Linked DNA regions of Homo sapiens: regions 2 and 3 are each linked to region 1. The links are contacts of gene promoters, found by promoter capture Hi-C in human tissues and cell types (Jung and others, 2019). All regions are on one chromosome and are shown on one strand. The core of a region is centred on a gene start or on the middle of the fragment in contact, and the rest is flanking DNA. Distances in the headings are between cores, read along the strand shown. Region 1 holds the start of GPR156 (G protein-coupled receptor 156). Region 2 overlaps LRRC58 (leucine rich repeat containing 58). Region 3 has its middle 27 kb from the start of LRRC58.

Evidence for each region. The method cuts DNA at HindIII sites, captures the fragments that hold promoters and counts their contacts. A contact is called where the count stands out against the background at its distance.
Region 2: a contact is called between a fragment that was not itself captured here and the fragment with the promoter of GPR156 in region 1, in 1 of the 25 tissues and cell types used here (bladder).
Region 3: a contact is called between a fragment that was not itself captured here and the fragment with the promoter of GPR156 in region 1, in 1 of the 25 tissues and cell types used here (mesendoderm cells).

What each region holds. Positions count from the first base shown.
Region 1 is chr3:120,283,222-120,287,201 of GRCh38, forward strand. GPR156 (G protein-coupled receptor 156) reads right to left here and starts at 2,001. Exons shown (of 10, transcript NM_153002.3): 1 at 1,808-2,001. LOC124909418 (a long non-coding RNA gene) reads left to right here and starts at 1,935. Exons shown (of 2, transcript XR_007096029.1): 1 at 1,935-3,916. The HindIII fragment of the contact is 13,353 bases long and covers 1-3,980 here.
Region 2 is chr3:120,342,732-120,346,711 of GRCh38, forward strand. All of the region lies in intron 1 of LRRC58 (leucine rich repeat containing 58), which reads right to left. Among named protein-coding and RNA genes, the nearest start is that of LRRC58, 4.6 kb to the right of the region's middle. The HindIII fragment of the contact is 4,219 bases long and covers 123-3,980 here.
Region 3 is chr3:120,320,095-120,324,074 of GRCh38, forward strand. No RefSeq gene overlaps it. Among named protein-coding and RNA genes, the nearest start is that of LRRC58, 27 kb to the right of the region's middle. The HindIII fragment of the contact is 7,195 bases long and covers 1-3,980 here.

The sequences.
Region 1 (3,980 bases), core at 751-3,250:
TGAATGTTCTGATTCTCAAGACCTTTGCAAAATAAAGGCTCTGATTTTTTTTTTTCAACTAAATGTAGAACATTTCTTTCAACCCCCAAATCCACCTTTGCAGCCCAAGTCAGTCCACGTTGCACTGTTTCTGCAGCATGTCAGAGCCTCTGGCTTCTTTCCTCTCTCCCCCTTCCCCCAATTAATCTCTGAAACCTACATAAGAATGGAATAAAATGCAAATTCAAGGAGAAGGATGCAGTTTTCAGAGAAGGCCTCATCCTCCTCCTACCCTATAATGGAAATTCCCTTATGGTTAAACAACAAAAATGGAAATATTAAAACCCTCAGCTGAAAACAAACACTTAAGCACCTATTCTCCTTTCCAGAGAATCTGTTTCCCTCAATCATTATTTTTCCACTCTTTTGAGAGCCTTCTAGGCTGAAAGTTGTTTCATCTCACCCATCTTGGGTCTCTCCTAGGTCTCATTTCTGCCTTCACCAGGCTTGAAGTTCTATATCCCTAGGCTATCAGAACTTTGACTCTGACCAGGCTCAATTCTAGACTTTACTGGGGAATGGGGAGAAGCTAAAAGCTGGGGGTGGAAGAGAAGGGGAAACAGAGGGAACATTCCAGAGACAGTAGTGTCCCTGAAGGGGAATTAGGCTGGCAAAATGGGGACCAGAAAGCCACCTCTATTCCTCACAAGGGACACCTAACTCAAGCACAGCCTGCTAAAGCACTTTATTCTCCAGACTCAAATTGCCTTAACCTGTAAGCAAACGCTTCCCCAGCCATTTATCCGCAAGCGCATTTGCCCCACCTGCAGCAATGAAAGAAGCACTGTTTTTGCAAGCCGGGCTGCTACCCAGACTGCGAGGAGACATTCTGTGCAGAATTCAGCCACTGGTGGAGAAAAAGAAGTTTTTCTTTGCAGGCCTTGCTGCCTAATACAACTATATCAACAATTTCTCCCGCTGTGTAAGCCCCATCTGAAAATCTTTCCCTTTTATCTAGGATGCAAAAATGTAATGTTATCCTCCATATTCTGGTTTAAAGAACTACACCAGGAAAGACATTTTATGATAGGCTAGGGCATCATTTACCTCTAATTCAAGCATGCATGTACCTAGAAAACTAACAAAGGGGTAAGTTATGCCATGCCATGACTTCTCTTCCCAGATTTCTATCCTGAAATCTTAACAAAATTCGATTTTAAAAACCTCAAGGTTTGTATTCTTCACGAGTACATGGATACCTTGAGTTCTACCTAGAGGCCTCTAGTTTCTGACAGAGCTAACTTGGAAAGGGCTGCTTGCCAGGGTACAAGGATGTTGCAGCTTCCAGGTGACTCCCTCATGCCCAGAAGCAAGGCAGTTCAACAGACGCAGTGCAATACAATTGTCCCTTTTCAGGACTTTGCAATCTCCATGGGGGAGCCCATCGTGCCCGCCACTCTACACCCTGGGGGTGAACATGCCCTGCAAAGCAGATTCGGCGTGAGGAGACTCTGGAAAGTCTACAGGCGGTGGGAAACTGTTTCGGGATCTCTCATTTTCAGCACAGCCGGTCGCTTATTCAGCAGAAAACCCACGGCCCCATCTTCACACCAAATTACAGTACTCTCCCGTCTCTTCCACTGAAATTGCCACTCGCATCCCTGATGCGTGACCCCTGCTCACCTCAAGTTCCTATGAGAGTTTCTTTACCGGTTCCAAACAAACTGCCCAGATTCTGGAAAGGGAGAGAAAGCCCCTCCCCCTTTCCACTTTCACTTAATAATTAAGTGTTTGAAGTTTTGTGGATCCTTAAGGTCGCTGTGCTCACCTCATCAGCGTCGGACCGCCGAGAAGCGCCAAGCCCGCTGCTATGTGCAGGACGCCCACGGTCCCCCGGCGTCTCGCGCGTTCGCGGGGCTGGAAGGGGCGGGAAGGGGCGGGCCGGGGCAGAGACAGGGGCCCGCGCCCATCGCCGCGCCGGGAGCCTGGCGTGGAGGCGGCGGGACGGCGGCGCAGGCCTCTGAGGTGTGCGCGGGGCGCCGGGCGCCTCTGGCCGGGGCACTGGCTGAGCCACGCCTGCCCGCCCCTCCCTGGCGCCGCCCGCGTGGCGCGCCTCGACCCTGCTCTCCCGCGAGGGCCGGGAGGGCTCCGGGACCTTGCAGACTCCACGCGCCTCACGGCTCCTCCAGCTCCTCGGATCTTTCTCCTTGCGTCGCCGCCGAGTCCCCTGGGGCGGCCCCGCCTCCGGCCGTCTCCTCAGAGACCTTCCCTGGGGGGCGCCTTCCCCTCAGCGCCCCTTCCCGGGCCTCGAGCCAGCGGCTGCCGCAGGAGCTGGCCCCGGGGCGAGGAGCTTCAGATTCAGGTCCCTAGCCGGCCTCGGTAAGGAGACTGGAAGGATTCTCCGCGAATGCTCATTTTTATTTCTGGAGTGGCGTCGGAGTTACCAATTAGTTTTCTTATTTTATACTCTCTGGAGTTGCCAAATTCTTTACGTTGAGCTTTTGCTTATTTTATAATCAGAAAGACAAGTACGTTTCTTTTTCCAAGAATGCTTACAGGAGGCCACAAACAAGATGTTCGCACCCAGCCCACTGTCTTCCGCTTAAAAATATGTGTGAGATGTTGTGTTTAAGACACCCTCAAGGAGAAACATAGAGGGGAGACCTGGAAATGGTCTTGGGAATCCACTTAGACTTTCCATATTATATTTGTTTCATTTATTTTAAAATCTCAGACCTATTTATGTGCATTAGGACATTCCACATTTTTACAACTGCGCAGAGGAAATCTTTGGTTGTAGAGGACGGGAAGAGAGAGGCCAGGTCCGCAGACCCCACTGTGACAAGACAGTGGCTACATTCTTAACTGTTTTACACATTGTGATACCCAAAGACTTCTTTTCACAGGATTCTACTGAGGGGGAAAACAAGAGGAAGAAAGAAAGATAGACAAGGTTTTCCTCAAGGCAGTAAGCAAAAAGCTGGTTTCTCAGAAGAAAGAATTATGTCTGAGATTTTACCCAGGACTCTCCAGATCTCTCATTCTACACAGAAGGACCCTTTCATTTGGAACGTGCAGAAACTGAGGAGGACCATCTCTCTCCTCCATGGGGGCTGCCTGAGTTAAAAAGGCCTGGGTCCATCTTTTTTCCGTAGGAGAGCTGACTTCAGAGTCTAGAGCCAAATCTTCACTTCTGTGGCTCTAGATTGAGGATTTGCCCTTCTGATCTCTGTGGGGCTTTTTTTTTTTAACCTGGGAATTCCCCTGGGCTCTTCGGCTGTTATTCTCATCAACCCCTCTCTATATTCTGCAAGACATTGAAATCTTTCTCCCAGCTTGGCCCCCACCTCCAATCCCAGTATTCTCTTTTCTGAGATTGGAGTATTTCCAACCCCTCAGTTGCCAGGCACTGAAGGTTTTCATCTTCCAGGCCTGCCATGTTTACCTCTGAGATGTTTCTGGCAACTGTCCACTTCTCTGCATTCTCACACTGCTGCTCTTGATAAGCTTCGATTATCTGGGGCTGAATTGTTTCAATAATTTCCTAACTGATTTTCTTGCCTCCTATCTGTCCCCACCACCAACATAGACTTAAGAATGTCACTCTCTTGACAAAACAAGCCAACATCCTCTATCCTCTGTCCCACTCCCAAACCTGCAGTAACTTTCCTGTGCAATTGTAATACAGTGTAAACTTTCATAAGGATGGGGAGTGGCCAAGATGGCTGACCAGAAGCAGGTAATGTACATGGCTCTCACGGAGAGGAACAGAAGGGACGAGTAGATACAACACCTTCAACTGAAACATCCGGGTACTCGCATTGGGATTAATCAAGGAAACAACCTGACCCACAGAGAACAAGGAAAAGCAAGACAGGACAACAGCCCACCTGGGAGCAACAGGGAACCAGGGGATCTTCCCCTGCCCAGGGAAGTGGTAAGTGAATGAGCGACCCCGGAAACCATGCTTCTCCCACAGATCTTTGCAACCCTCCTGTCAG
Region 2 (3,980 bases), core at 982-3,481, 60 kb after region 1:
CTTGGGCAAAAGTGCCATGGCCACAGAGGTTTCCAGTCAGAAAAATCAACATCCCAGAGATCCCGTAACAATGTGAGGCCACAGTGAGAAGACTGCAGTCTATGAACCAGGAAGAAAGCCCTCACCAGACATCAAATTCCAGGACCCTGATCTTGGAATTCCCAGCCTCCAGAACTGTGACACATAAATTTGTGTTGTTTATAAGTCACTCAGTTTACGTCTTGTTATAGTAGCCTGAACTTATTAAGACAGTCAGGAACCAAGAAAAACTAGTCTCTGGTGATCATTTGCTACTTGATGTCTTCTTTCAATGCTTTGGAAGTGGACAGGGAAGGTAGACGGAAAGGATGCAAAACATTAGTAGTTACCTTGACTGTGGCAGAAAAGGATCTGACGTTCTAAAATATAACTAAGGCCATGATTTTGCAATTATGTAAATTCTCTTTTGCAATTGATGAATAACACTAATCAAATTACATAACCATCATATTAAATTTACAGTTTCAGGCTTATTTTTTACTTTCTAACTCAAATAATTTCCAAATTTCTAGGGACTTGACATCTTTCGATGATTTGTGGGAATTAAATTTCTATAACACACTCTACTGTTTCTGAATACACTTTTTTTTAAGAAGAAAGGAAACTGTTGTTGAATTTGTAGCAAAACTGTAGGGTTTAAGTTCTTGTGGTTATCAACATTGCAACTCTGTTAATTAGGGTTGGAACAATTCTATTCTTTCAGTATTTGAGGAATACAGAAAACAAGAAAAGTACTCACTAAATTTATGGAACAAATTATTCCTTTCCTGTTTAGCATTAATATATTGACCTTAAAATTGTCTCTTGAAAAATGAATCACGTTTCCAATCCTTAGGGATACTGCAGTGGATGCCTTTTCTCTTATCAAGTACAAATGACCCACTGAAAAAACAGGCTAGCACAAGTAAAAGTAGAAAATGCTTTCTGCTTCTCCAATCAAATAAAACTGACACCGAACATCATAAAAATATACGTTAAGCTGGGCACAGTGGTTCACGTCTCTAATCCCAGCACTTTCGGAAGCTGAGGCAGGCGGATCACTTGAGGTCAGGAGTTCGAGACCAGCCTGGCCAACATGGTGAAACCCCGTCTCTACTGAAAATAAAATTTAAAAAAAAATTAGCCTGGTGTGGTGGCAGGTGCCTGTAATCCCAGCTACTTGGGAGGCTGAGGCAGGAGAATCACCTGAACCTGGGAGGCAGAGGCTGCAGTGAGGTGAGATCGTGCCGCTGCACTCCAGCTTGGTGGACAGGGCGAGACTCTGACTCCAAAAAACAAATAAACAAACAAACAAAAACAAAAAAAAACCCCCAAACAACAACAACAACAAAAATACATTAATCCTATCTTATATGGTTGGTTAAAAGGAGATGGAATTAAAGTAAGATAGGAATGTACAAAGAAGTAGAAAACAGAAAGGAAAAGAAACAGAAAGATAAGAACATCTGTGGATAAAGAAAGTTTTCTTGAAGTAGCATCTTTGTATTAAATGACAAATACTAACATACACCACAGGATTATAAGGTACCTATATGTTCAAAAGTAGACATACAAATAGATGCATCATCTCTTGACACTTGCCCCAAATTAAGGCAATAAAAAAAGTCAGAGGGACGATGTTGAGAGCCAGTGACAAGCTCAGTATGTGACTCTAAATGTGGAAAAGCATTTTCATTTAAACTTTACTGCATTCTATCATCTGGTTGAGTCATCTGTCTCCTTTCTAACATATCAACCTACTGTACACTAACTTCAAAACATTTGAGAGCATTAACTTTTAGCTTTTGTTTTGTCACACCCTCCTATCTCAATCTTTCAAAACCACATCAAACAGATGGTGAGAGGCATCATGAACAGAAAAAGGAAGGCATTACTTAAGAAGAAAAGATTGTAGAAGAGTACCAATGAAACTCAGTTGTGCTCAAACCTACTCTCCAAATATCTAGCATACTGGATTTGCCAAACAATCCAGAAGCTTTTGTTTACTTAAATAAAGTCTATTGGCCATTGAGTGATAAGCTATTAAGCTCTTCCTCAATTAATATCTAACCTAACTGAGAAGAATAAAAGGTATGATTCAGAAAAATAAGTCAGAATATGAATTATACCTACTTTTTCAGCATTATGTAACAAAAAAAATTTTGCCCATATACTATAGCCAAACAATTACACTTATTTGCTGAAGAATAACCACATTTTGATGGAAAGTAACTACATCCACAACCGCATGGTTCACATTGATAACCTAATTTACTCGAGGGGAAGGAAGTTAATCATAAAAATAAGTAAGATTTTCAGCATCTACTTATTTGTTATACTTTGAAAGTGATGCTTCAGAAAACGTTAAAAAAAAAAAGATTTTGCCACTAGGGGAAAGAATTAATAGGGTATAGAAAACATAGATATCTTGCTAAATCTGGAGAGGTCAATGACACCAATTAAGCCATAAGTATTCATTTGTTATTCCTTCCTTAAATGATGAAGAGTGGAAGGAGTGGGGGAGTTTTCATGGATTATATAGTCTGTACTATTTTAATAATTGCTCTTACAGAGGACACATATCTTCTTAATGTGCCAAAACACTAGATCTGGTTTAAAAAGCAGCATGGCATACATAGTATCAATATAAATCAGGGTAACCAATGAAGTCTAGAGGATCCAGGTATTTTCTAAGAGAAGATGGTGTTCTTGGACAGGTAGTTTAAGAGACTAAACCTCCACCTCTACATTTTTGAAGCTTTAATGCATCATATTAGTAGTGAATAGTTAGCAGTGTTTGAAGGCTGAACCACATAACTCTCACTTGTCACTATCTCGCCTCAAGTAAATCACTGATAATAAATCTAAGTTTCCTCATCTGTAAATAGAAGGGGATGAATCGGGTCACTGCCAAGGCTTTTTCTAGCTCAGAGTATATTTCTACACAACCCTTTTAACCTACAATCAGAGTTTATATGTGGAGCATAGCCTAAACCTTTACCGATTCTTAGCAGTAACGAGAAATAAGGCACGCAAGTGAAAAATGAAAACAGTGACGTTAAAGATATCATACATTATTGGTGTCAAAGACACAATGAACAATAAACACAGATAGCACGGTTGTTAGCCCAGAAAACTGAGTCAGAAGATCAGTCAACTATGTGAATGACTTTGACAAATCCTCCTGATCACAAATCCAACAGTACAGAAGTCAAGTTCTAGGCTGGGTGCAGTGCCTCACGCCTGTAATCCCAACACTTTGGGAGGCAGAGGTGGGTGGATCACTTGAGGTCAGAAGTTTGAGACCAGCCTGGCCTGGCCAACATGGTGAAACTTTGTCTCTACTAAAAGTACAAAAATTAGCTGGCGTGATGGCACGCTCCTGTGGTCGCAGATACTTGGGAGGCTGAGGCAAGAGCATCACTTGAACCCAGGAGGCGGAGATTGCAGTGAGCCCAGATCATGCCACTGCACTCCAGCCTGGGCAACAGAGTGAAACTCCATCTCAAAAAAACAGAAAACAAAAAACAAAAAACAAAAACAAGCAAAAAACCATGACCCTCCAACCCCCCAACAAAGATTCAGGTTCTAGTACTCTGCCACTGTGCAGAACTCAAGGGTTTGGAGTCACAGACCACAGAGGTCAAATACAGTTCCAATGCTTACTAGCCTTGTAATCTTATGACTTAATTTCTCTGAGCTTCAGTTTCTGCCTCTGAAAAATGGGAGCACATCATCTTATGGCATCATTGTGAGTATTAAAAAGCATAGTTAGCACCTATGACAGGATCTACTGCATTGTAAGTATTAAATAAATGGGATTTTTGCCTACTTTTCTCCCCATGTGATGGAAATAATACTTTCCCTGGGTTCCTGTTAGTATATTAAGAAAATTCCAAGGCTGGAATTATGCAACATTAAAATTAGAAGGAACCAAGGGCTGTCAATTTTACCTCTAAATC
Region 3 (3,980 bases), core at 1,005-3,504, 37 kb after region 1:
ATGTAATTACAGTTATGCCACATCTTAAGCCACAGGTATCTAGTAATTATCTGATTCATTCTTATCCATTGGTCAATTACACACACATCTTTCATGAGATACTGCCCCAGCAGAAATAAAACACTAAGATTATTTGTTTCAAAACCACCGATTGACATCTGTCATCCACTACCACAAACCCTTGGAAGTGTTATAAAGTGTGGAATTTTAATTGCAGATTAGGGGTAAAATTCTCATTACCCTACTAACTCTGCCCTTAGCGTCATGTGCATTGGCTTAGGAGGAAAGATGAAAAGACCTAAATAGAGATGGCTAAAAGAGGTGCAGTGAATGATACAAGAATTTACAAATATTTGAGACCTACACAAATAGAAAGGAGCTTTTCAGCAAGATCATTGTAGACTCTCAAAGTTAGAAAGAACTTGTGAAATCATTGTCAGGTTTACAAAGGGGTTAAAATTAACACAAAATACTAAAATTTTGGGAGCTTTCTAGTATAAAATAAGCTTAATTTTCAAGAAGAAAAACTTATTTCACATCTTTCTTTAGTTCAACTTTTAAAGTTTCCAAAGCTACATTTTAAACTCAGTCATTATTTATAGGGAGAAAATACCCATAATAATTATCTCGATAATATGTTCTTTTCCATAGAGTTCCCATGGCATCATGAACAAGTTTTCTTTTCCATTTAAACTTTCCATATATTTACAGAGGTCTTAAGACTGCATTATTATCCAGATTTAAGCAGGAAAATAATTACATAGCCTCATAACTAAATCTGAAAGAAACTAGGGTAGAACTTATGCATAGTGTTTATTTGTAGTTGAGTTGAACTTTTCTATAGAATCATGGGAATCTATGCTTATGGATTAACTATAGTGTCATCTTCTAGGCAGATGTTTACATCTTATCGTTCTTAGGAATGTCTTGCTGTTTACTGTTGTTTATGATGTTAGCTATGTGTTTATCTGTGATCAATAAAACCAGTGTACAACTTGACAAGGGTTTCCTCATAGATGGAAAGGTTGTCTCCTGCCTGTGGCCATAACCTGAAATATTTGACCAAGTCTTTCTTTCACGAATGTTTCTGGTCAAGTTGATCTGTTTGCTGCTTTTGTTTTCCACAATTTGGTGAACACTCTGCCTTAGTTGTAACTGGCTTCAAAATGGCCAATCCATTTGAATGTAACATCATATACCCTCAAAACACTTCCAGTTCAGAAGAAAAGTGACTGACAGGGAGAAGCAAAAAACATTGGATTAGCAGTCAGTGCCTGGTCTGAAGTATGCATTCAATTAAAAAAAATTGGGGGTACAGATGAATAAATTTTAGCCACAGCAACATCTAAGAGAACTTGAGCAAGTCACTTCATCACTTTGGTCCCATTTATCTATTAAGAAAAACTCTACTCCATTGACCTCAAGTTACCATAAAGGGACTTTCACTAAAACACTGATTATCACCCTCACTGGGAAACCAAGTCACCTACAAGAGCTTCTACAACTACGGATGCCAAGACTCTATCTTTAGAGATCAAGTTTCAATTGGTCTGGGGATGGTGTCTTTGTATCTGTATATTTTGAAAGCTTTTCTGGTGATTCTACTGTTCAGCAAGGTTTGAAAATAGCTGCCCAGAGGAAACACTTTCCAACATCTTTTTCCTCCCTGTGGGATAAAGACTTAATTCATCTGCTTAGATGGCCGAAGACTGAAGATAATTGGTCTAGTTTCTCTACTGGGCAGCACTAAGGGGTTTAAGAATTTACCTGTGCTCCTTTGGATCTGTCTGCCCAAAGTGGTATGTTCTGGGCAGTAGTATAGAATACTATCCAGGGGTAGACTCAGTCCTCGCAGGGGAAGCCTGTGATTTTGGTTGGTTACATTCAATTTAATTAAGGGAAAGAATATAAGCAGCTCAATTCTGATTTGATAGAGCTGGTATTTTGTTCCCTATCTCAGGTCAATGTCAATTTCTTAGTTGATTTCAAACGGCAGAAGGAAGGGGGAAGGCTTTGATAAACCACATGAACGTACGTCACCAAATCTACCTCAGCAGTGTCATGACGATTAAATAAGATAGCCTCTTGAATGTGCTTTAAAGAGGTACCCAGCTGTTTACTCTTAAAGTCATCACCAGATCTAAAATTCTGAATACATTGAGATATAGTGCAGATCGCATCACTTCAATACTAGTAGGCCTGTTATTGTGGAGTACTAATACTGTTACTGATTTCCTGTTACAGCATATTAAACAAAGGAAGCAGCATCCTATAGCAGAATCAAGTCTTTTTTTTTTTTTTTTTGAGATGGAGTCTTGCTCTGTCACCCAGGCTGGAGTGCAGTGGCTTGATACAAGCTCACTGCAACCTCTGCCCCCTGGGTTAAAGCAATTCTCCTGCCTCAGCCTTCTGAGTAGCTGGGATTATGGGCACCTGCCACCATGCCCGGCTAATTTTTTTATAGTTTTAGTAGAGCAAGGGTTTCACCATGTTGGCCAGGCTGGTCTCGAAATCCTGACCTCGTGATCTACTCACCTTGGCCTCCCAAAGTGGTGGGATTATAGGCGTGAGCCACCACGCCTGGCCAGAAACAAGTCTTGAAGCGGTAATCTGAAAGCCTGGATTCAAGATTCAGCCATATGGATTCTAGAAAAAGTTTCTTTCGATTTGAATTTTTTTCATTTTTCAAACAAGTGTGTCAATTTCAGATTTCTAAAGTTTCTTCTAGCTCTAATATTCTACGGGATTCTGACAGATTGTTCATGAAGCTGGAAGTGACTGGTGTGATGGATGGAACATGCCCGTCATACATATCCCCAGAAATGTTCTGGCTTTATATTTGGTATCTGCAAAGAATTAGACAAGTCATTTAAGAGTAAAATGTTCTTGTGGCACTAATGCTATGGAGACTAGGTGGATTAGAGAACGGTTTTACCTTTAAGAAAGGAGGCCGGGTACAGTGGCTCACGCCTGTAATCCCAGCACTTTGGGAGGCAGAGGTGGGCAGATCACGAGGTCAGGAATCGAGACCATCCTGGCCAACGTGATGAAACCCCGTTTCTATTAAAAATACAAAAATTAGCTGGGCACAGTGGCACGCGCCTGCAGTCCCAGCTACTTGGGAAGCTGAGGCAGGAGAATCGCTTGAACCTGGGAGGCGGAGGTTGCAGTGAGCCGAGATTGCGCCACTGTACTCAGCCTGGTGACAGAGTGAGACTCCATTTCAAAAAAAAAAAAAACAAAAAACAAAAAAACGAAAGAGAGGCCAGGTGCGGTGGCTCACACCTGTAATCCTAGCACTTTGGGAGGCCGAGGTGGGCGGATCACCTGAGGTCGGGAGCTCGAGACCAGCCTGACCAACATAAAGAAACCCCGTCTCTACTAAAAATACAACATTAGCTGGGCATGGTGGTGCACGCCTGTAATCCCAGCTACTCAGGAGGCTGAGGCAGGAGAATCACTTGAACCTGGGAGGCAGAGGTTGCAGTGAGCCAAGATTGCACCATTGCACTCCAGCCTGGGCAACAAGAGTGAAACTCCATCTCAAAAAAAAGGAAAGAGATCAGACAAACACATAGAGGGTATCAAACACATACACTCTATGTGTTTTCTCTTCTCCCTCAAATTTTTTGGGCCTGTCTTTGCCAAGCAGTCATCTGTATTAGCCCATTTTCATACTGCTATGAAGAAATATCCGAGACTGGGTAATTTATAAAGAAAAAGGCTTAATGGACTTACAATTCCACATGGCTGGGGAGGCCTCACAATCACGGTGGAGGGCAAAGGAGGAAAGGCACATCTTAAGTGGCAGCAGGCTTGTGCAGGAGAACTGCCCTAGTGAGTAAATCTCCTGAGACTTACTCACTATCACAAGAATAGCATGGGAAAACCCGCCCCATGATTCAATTACCTCCCACTGGGTCCCTCCCATGACACGTGGGGATTATGGGTGCTACAATTCAAGATGAGATTTGGGTGGC